Regions from separate parts of the Homo sapiens genome. Here region 2 is linked to region 1. Evidence: promoter capture Hi-C in 16 types of primary human blood cells and fetal thymus (Javierre and others, 2016). All regions are on one chromosome and are shown on one strand. The core of a region is centred on a gene start or on the middle of the fragment in contact, and the rest is flanking DNA. Distances in the headings are between cores, read along the strand shown. Region 1 has its middle 4.9 kb from the start of OR7G3. Region 2 holds the start of OLFM2 (olfactomedin 2).

What was found. The method cuts DNA at HindIII sites, captures the fragments that hold promoters and counts their contacts. A CHiCAGO score of 5 or more calls a contact.
Region 2: a contact is called between the fragment with the promoter of OLFM2 here and a fragment that was not itself captured in region 1, in 1 of 17 cell types (erythroblasts). The highest score is 5.1, in erythroblasts.

The regions. Positions count from the first base shown.
Region 1 is chr19:9,130,259-9,133,440 of GRCh38, reverse strand. No RefSeq gene overlaps it. Among named protein-coding and RNA genes, the nearest start is that of OR7G3, 4.9 kb to the right of the region's middle. The HindIII fragment of the contact is 4,665 bases long and covers 1-3,182 here.
Region 2 is chr19:9,934,883-9,937,877 of GRCh38, reverse strand. OLFM2 (olfactomedin 2) reads left to right here and starts at 1,363. Exons shown (of 6, transcript NM_058164.4): 1 at 1,363-1,574. The coding sequence starts at 1,512. RefSeq lists enhancers at 344-846, 1,513-2,107. The HindIII fragment of the contact is 5,720 bases long and covers 1-2,995 here.

The DNA.
Region 1 (3,182 bases), core at 618-3,117:
ATACATAATAGCTTTTGCCTGTCAATGTAATTTCCAATCGTAATAGAATCATTCCTTAGTAAACTACATAAAATATCAAACGATGGAAGTATCATTCCTTTGATTATGAATGCAGACATTTTTCCCCTTGTCTTCCCAAGTTTAGGGTCAATATTTAAAGAGAAACCCACACAGGCCCCATTTTTTGTCACCATCACTGCACCATTTCATACCCTATCAACTTTAGGTTTTGTTCTTCATTTGTTTCAGACTGGGTTTGGGCTTTATCTGCATTTTGTCAACATTATGTCACCATTTCTTTTCCAAAAACTTACTGTACTAGGCCATTATTGTGTTGGTATAAAGAAATACCTGATGCCAGGTGCGGTGGCTCGTGCCTATAGTTCCAGCACTTTGGGAGGCCGAGGTGTGTGGATCACTTGAAGTCAGGAGTTTGAGACCAGCATGGCCAACATGGTGAAACCTCGTCTCTACTGAAAATATAAAAATTTGCCAGGTGTCGTGTGTGCCTGTAATCCTAGCTACTCTACTCAGGAGGCTGAGGCAGGAGAATCGCTTGAACCTGGGAGGCGGAGGTTGCAGTGAGCTGAGATCACGCCACTGCACTCCAGCCAGGGCGCAGAGTGAGACTTGGTTTGAAAAAAAAAAAAAAAAAAAAAAGCAATTTCTGACTCAGAGAAAGCTGGGATTCTGTCTAAGGAGGATTCCACCAGCTCCCTAGGGGTCCGATCCTAGGATCCAAGAATGAGATACCCTCGGGATAAGAGGAAATGTGGTTGGAAGAGAATGACATACAGCTTGTCCCTTGGGGTCAGAAAGTCAACCATCCAGGAATTCCCCCTTTGTGCTCACGTCTGACCTGTGCTCATTAAGGATTTGAGCTGCCTTAGGGGAAGAAATGACAGTACTGTACACATCTAGCTAATGAGCAGCTTTGAAAATTGAGCTCCTAGGGGCCACAGAGACTGCAAATAATCTACCGGTGACCACTCCACTCAACAGCCCCGCTCATGTTAGGAAACATCACACCTGAGTCTTGCTCCAGAGATGATCCCTCTTGCCCAAGAGTGGGTTGCCTTACTTGGTTCATCTGCCCTTCTTGGGGATAGATCTTCCATTTCATCTTACAATTCTCCAAGAAAAAAAATGGAGAATTCCTTACTGATGCCTTCAAGGTAATCTGAAATGCTCCCAATAAATGCTGTGAGAAACTGAACAAGTTTTTTATTTTATTTTTTCTCCCATCTTATCTGGAGGACAACCATAAAGTAAGAGACAATTCAGCAGAATTGTTATAAGTGAGATTCCAAACTAATCGGTGACCCTTTTCATGATATATTTACTTCCCCTGTTTTCTTACAATTTATAATCAGATTTCATTATTTTCAGCTCTCATTCTGTCTTCTAAATCCTAGGGACTCCTTCCCTACCTAAGTATGAATTAGTCCCTTCAAAAAGGAATCTGGCCAAGTGCGGTGGCTCACGCATGTAGTCCCAGCACTTTGGGAACCAAGGCGGATCAATCACCTGAGGTCAGGAGTTCAAGACCAGCCTGGCCAACATGGTGAAACCCCATCTCTACTAAAAATACAAAAATTTAGCCGGGCATGGTGGCATGCACCTGTAATCCCAGCTACTCAGGAGGCTGAGGCAGGAGAATCGCTTGAACCCGGGAGGCAGAGGTTGCAGTGAGCTGAGATGGCACCACTGCATTCCAGCCTGGTGACAGAGCAAGACTCTGTCTCATAAAACAAACAAATAAACAAAAGGAATCTACAGTTCTCTGGTTTTCCACATTCTTTTTTTTATTTTTTGAGAAGGAGTCTCGCTCTGTCACCAGGCTGGAGTGCAGTGGCTCCATCTCAGTTCACTGCAACCTCCGCCTCCTGGGTTCCAGCGATTCTCCTGCCTCAGCCTTTTGAGTAGCTGGGATTACAGGCGCCCACCACCATGCCTGGCTAACTTTTGTATTTTTAGTAGAGATGGGGTTTCACCAAGTTGGCCAGGATGGTCTTGATCTCTTGACCTCGTGATCCGCCCACTTTGGCCTCCCAAAGTGCTGGAATTACAGACATGAGCCACCATGCCTGGCCCCATGGTTTTCCTCATTCTTTTGACTGCAGATGGGGCTTTGATGAGATGTGTCTGGCTTTTCAATCTTCACCATGTCTGTTGCCAGATTTCACCCTTAAATAACTTGACTCTTGTCCCCATCTCTTGACAGTGAGAAACTCCAGAAGAGGAAGTTGAGACCCACTCACTTACATTTCCAGTCTTTCGGTTTCTCTTTTAAAACCCCAAAACAGGCCAGATGTGGTGGTTCATGCCTGTAATCCTAGCACTTTGGGCTTACAGGCATGGGCAACATAGCAACATAGCCTGGGCAACATAGCAAGAGCTCATCTCTGCAAAAAAAAAAAATTTTTTTTAATTTTAAAAATAGATTTAAAATACTAAATATAATAATAATAACAATAAAGTATAACACTTAAACATGAAGTCCTCTTGATTTGTTTTTATTCCTCTCCTTCCCTTCCTGGGGACCACCACTCTCTGAAATTGGTGGGCATTCACTATGCTTAGTTTAACACTATTATTACATGTAATAATAGTGCCATAATTTGTGTATCTATCCCCATACTGATGTTTGTTTAGCTTCTTTCTTTCTTACTTTATTTTGAGACAGGATCTCACTCTGTCACCCAGACTGGAGTACAGTGGCTCAATCACGGCTCACAACAACCTCGACCTCCTGAGCTCAGGTGATCCTCCTACCTCAGCCTCCTGAGTAGCTAGGACTATAGGTGCATGCCACCATGCCTGACTAGTTTTTGTATTTTTTGTAGAGATGGGGTTTCACCATGTTGCCCAGGCTGGTCTCTAACTCCTGGGCTGAAGTGATCTGCCTGCCTCTACCTCCCAAAATGCTAGGATTACAGGCGCGAGCCACTGCGCCTGGCTTTTTCTTTTTTCTTTTTCTTTTCTCTGAGACAGCATCTTGCTCTGTCACCCAGGCTAGATAGAGTACAGACACACAACCCAGGCTGGTCTCAAACTCCTGGGCTCAAGTGATCCTCCCACCTCGGCCTTCCAAAGTGCTGGGATTACAGGCTTGAGCCACTGTGTCAAGCCCAGTTCTTTCTTTTCTGTACCTTATTACACTAGGAGAACCCTCAGTGGGA
Region 2 (2,995 bases), core at 114-2,613, 800 kb before region 1:
TGTTAAGAGCCTGGACACCAGCTGGGGTCGAGGCCCCACCAGCGTCTGGGGAGACCCCTCCTAGCCCAACAGTATCAGGGTCACAAAAATGCCAGGCTTCCTGGCCTCGCATATTTTATGCCCGATTTCTTTCCAATCTGACTTATTTGCCCGCCCCCCTCCTCCACCTCTGCCTACATATATCCGAATCCCTAGAGGGGCTGTGGGGAGGAAAGACGACTAGGGACACTTTTTTTTTTTTTTTTTTTTTGAGACAAGGTTTGCTCCTGTTGCCCAGGCTGGAGTGCAATGGCACGATCTCTGCTCACTGCAACCTCTGCCTCCCGGGTTCAAGCGATTCTCCTGTCTCAGCCTCCCGAGTAGCTGGGATTCCAGGCATGCACCACCACGCCCGGCTAATTTTTGTATGTTTTAGTAGAGGTGGGGTTTTGCCATGTTGGCCAGGCTGGTCTTGAACTCCTGACCTCAGATGATCCACCCTCCTCAGCCTCCCAAATTGCTGGAATTACAGGCGTGAGCCACCGCGCCCGGCCTAGGGAGACTTTTGGAGGAGTGAGAGGCAGAGAAAGGCTGGAAAGCCTCCCGAAAGTGAGGCTAGACAAGGACGCCCTTCATATGCAAATGGCTTCGCGTGGAGGCGGTGTTAATATTTTGATTCTCTCGGGGGATGTGGTCTTTCATCTTGGGCTATTGAAACAGGGAGCGAAGAGAAACTCTTCCAGGTGTGGCGGAGGCGGGGAGGCTTCCAGCGGGAGGACTGGTGGGGAAATGGGGCGCCCGGGGAGAGTGAAAACGAGACGCCCCTTTTTGAGGCCAAGCCCACCCACGTGGCCATTTCCATTGGCCTCTTGCCTGATTCTCGGTCTCCTGTCCCCCCAACCTCAATTTTTTCCTCTTATTCCCCGTCTCCATCTATGCCTCACCCCTCTTGTCCTGGCATTGACCCCTCCTCCAACTTCCAATTTCAGATTCTGCCTCAGTTTCCCTGTTGACTCTTGAGTTTTTAGGGAGGGGGCGTTCATCATTTCCCCTCTCTGCTACCAGGCCTTCCTCCTATTCCTCTCCCCCAACCATTCGTCCCCGTCCCACCTGCAACGTGGGAAATGCCCCCGGAGGGTGAAATTTACAAACACGTGACGGGCACCCCTCCCCCACCTCCGCGACCCGCTCCCGGAATGGCCTGGGGGTTGGGGGGCGCTGCCAAGTCCTGTCCTCAGGTCCCCTCGCCGGCGCTGGCTCCCCCACTTCCCCGCCCCCACCCCCCCACCCGACCCTGCTCGAGCTGCTCCCGAAGAGGAGCTGGGGGCGGGGCGGGGGGCGGAGCCCGCAACAAAGACTCGGAGCGAGCGAGGGGGCGGGGGTGGGGCGGAATCCCGGCCGCCGGCGAGGCGGGGGAGGCGGCGGCGCAGGGTCGCCCCGGCCGGGCGGGCGGGGTCGCGCCTGGTGGCGGTCCCCGCGCCGAGGCGCCGCTAGGGCGGGCGGGGGTCGGGACGCCGGGCTAGGGGCGCGTCATGTGGCCGCTCACGGTCCCGCCGCCGCTGCTGCTGCTGCTGTGCTCAGGCCTGGCCGGACAGGTAGGGGCCCGGCGGGCAGGTGCGGGCGCGGGTGGCTCCGGGAGAGGAGGGGGGCGCGGAGGGTTCCCGGAGAAACGGGGTTGGGAGGCTCCACAAGCCCCCCCAGCTGCAGGGCGGCGAGGGGCGGGGGTCGCAGCGGGGGAGGGGCCGGGACGTGCACTCTCTGGCTTGGGAGAGGACGAGGGGGGCTTCAAATCCAGCCTCAAGCTGGGCTGGTTTGGGGGGTGGCGTCTTTGGGGTTCTCAACCCCTCCATGGCCCCGAGCCCCCACCCCGCCATCTCGCTGGAGCTGAATGGGGTTGGGAGGGAAACTTCAGGGGGCATTGGAGGGGGGCGGTTGCTTACCCTTGACTTCCTCTTCGGGGCCGAGATGCCCAGTTTCTGAAGCCCTCCACTCCTCGCCTGCAGCCCCCAGTGTGGGGCAGGGGACGGGACTCACGTGAGAGTGACTGACGGGGACGCGTGTGAAATGCTGTGGGGGTGCAGGGTAAACGTGTGTGTCTTTGTGTCGTGGTTGGGTGTGACCGGGGGGAGTTTGTGTGTGTGGCGGTTGGGGGGCTTGTCCAACTAGTGCCCGAGTTGGGGTGTGATCAGTACGTGAGACAGAGTCTGTGTGTGACCGTGTCCTCATTACTGGCTCCAGATGACTGGGTGTTGTACAATACGTGTGTGGCCAGGTGTGTGGCCGTGTGAGAGCCTTGGAGTGAGCGTGTGCTATTCTGTACCTTTGGGTAAATCACTCTAAAAGGGTGTGTGTGTGTGCAAGCGCTGTGTGTGCAAACGTGTCCATCCATGCACGTGTGTGTGTGTATCTTGGTGCCTTGCTCACAACCGCACACGCCATTCATACCCTTACAGAAGCGGGTCTCCCTCCCCATGGCACCTTTCTCTTGGGCAGGCTCAGGGAGGCTTGCAAAATGTGGGGCGTCCACGCTCTCTTTTGCTATTGGAAAGCCCCTCTCCTCCTCCATCTTGGGAGTGAGAGCACCCCCAAGTTCTCAGATCTGTAGGAGTTCACAGGGAAGCTGGGATCAAAAATAATAAAATAGTCATTATGATAACAGTGATCATTCATTACGTGCTAATTTGAGAGGTGCTGTTTCAATCACACAGCACAGACTAAGGCATTTAACCCCCTCTGCCTCCTCCCTACTAGAGCATGGTATTGTTACCTCATTTTATGGATGGGGAAACTGAGGCGCAGAAAAGTTAAATCACTTGCTCAAGCTCGAGAGTGACAGAGGTGGGACTGAACCGAGGCAGTCCGGCTCCTGAGCCCACACGATTACCCTCTTGTTAAATAATCCGCTCCATGGGTGTGGACAGCGTCCGTGAAGACATTGCTAGGTGGGCTTTTAGGTAGATAGGCAGGGGAGAAACAATTTGGGCACCTTCCCCTTATCAAGAAAAGAATCAGACCC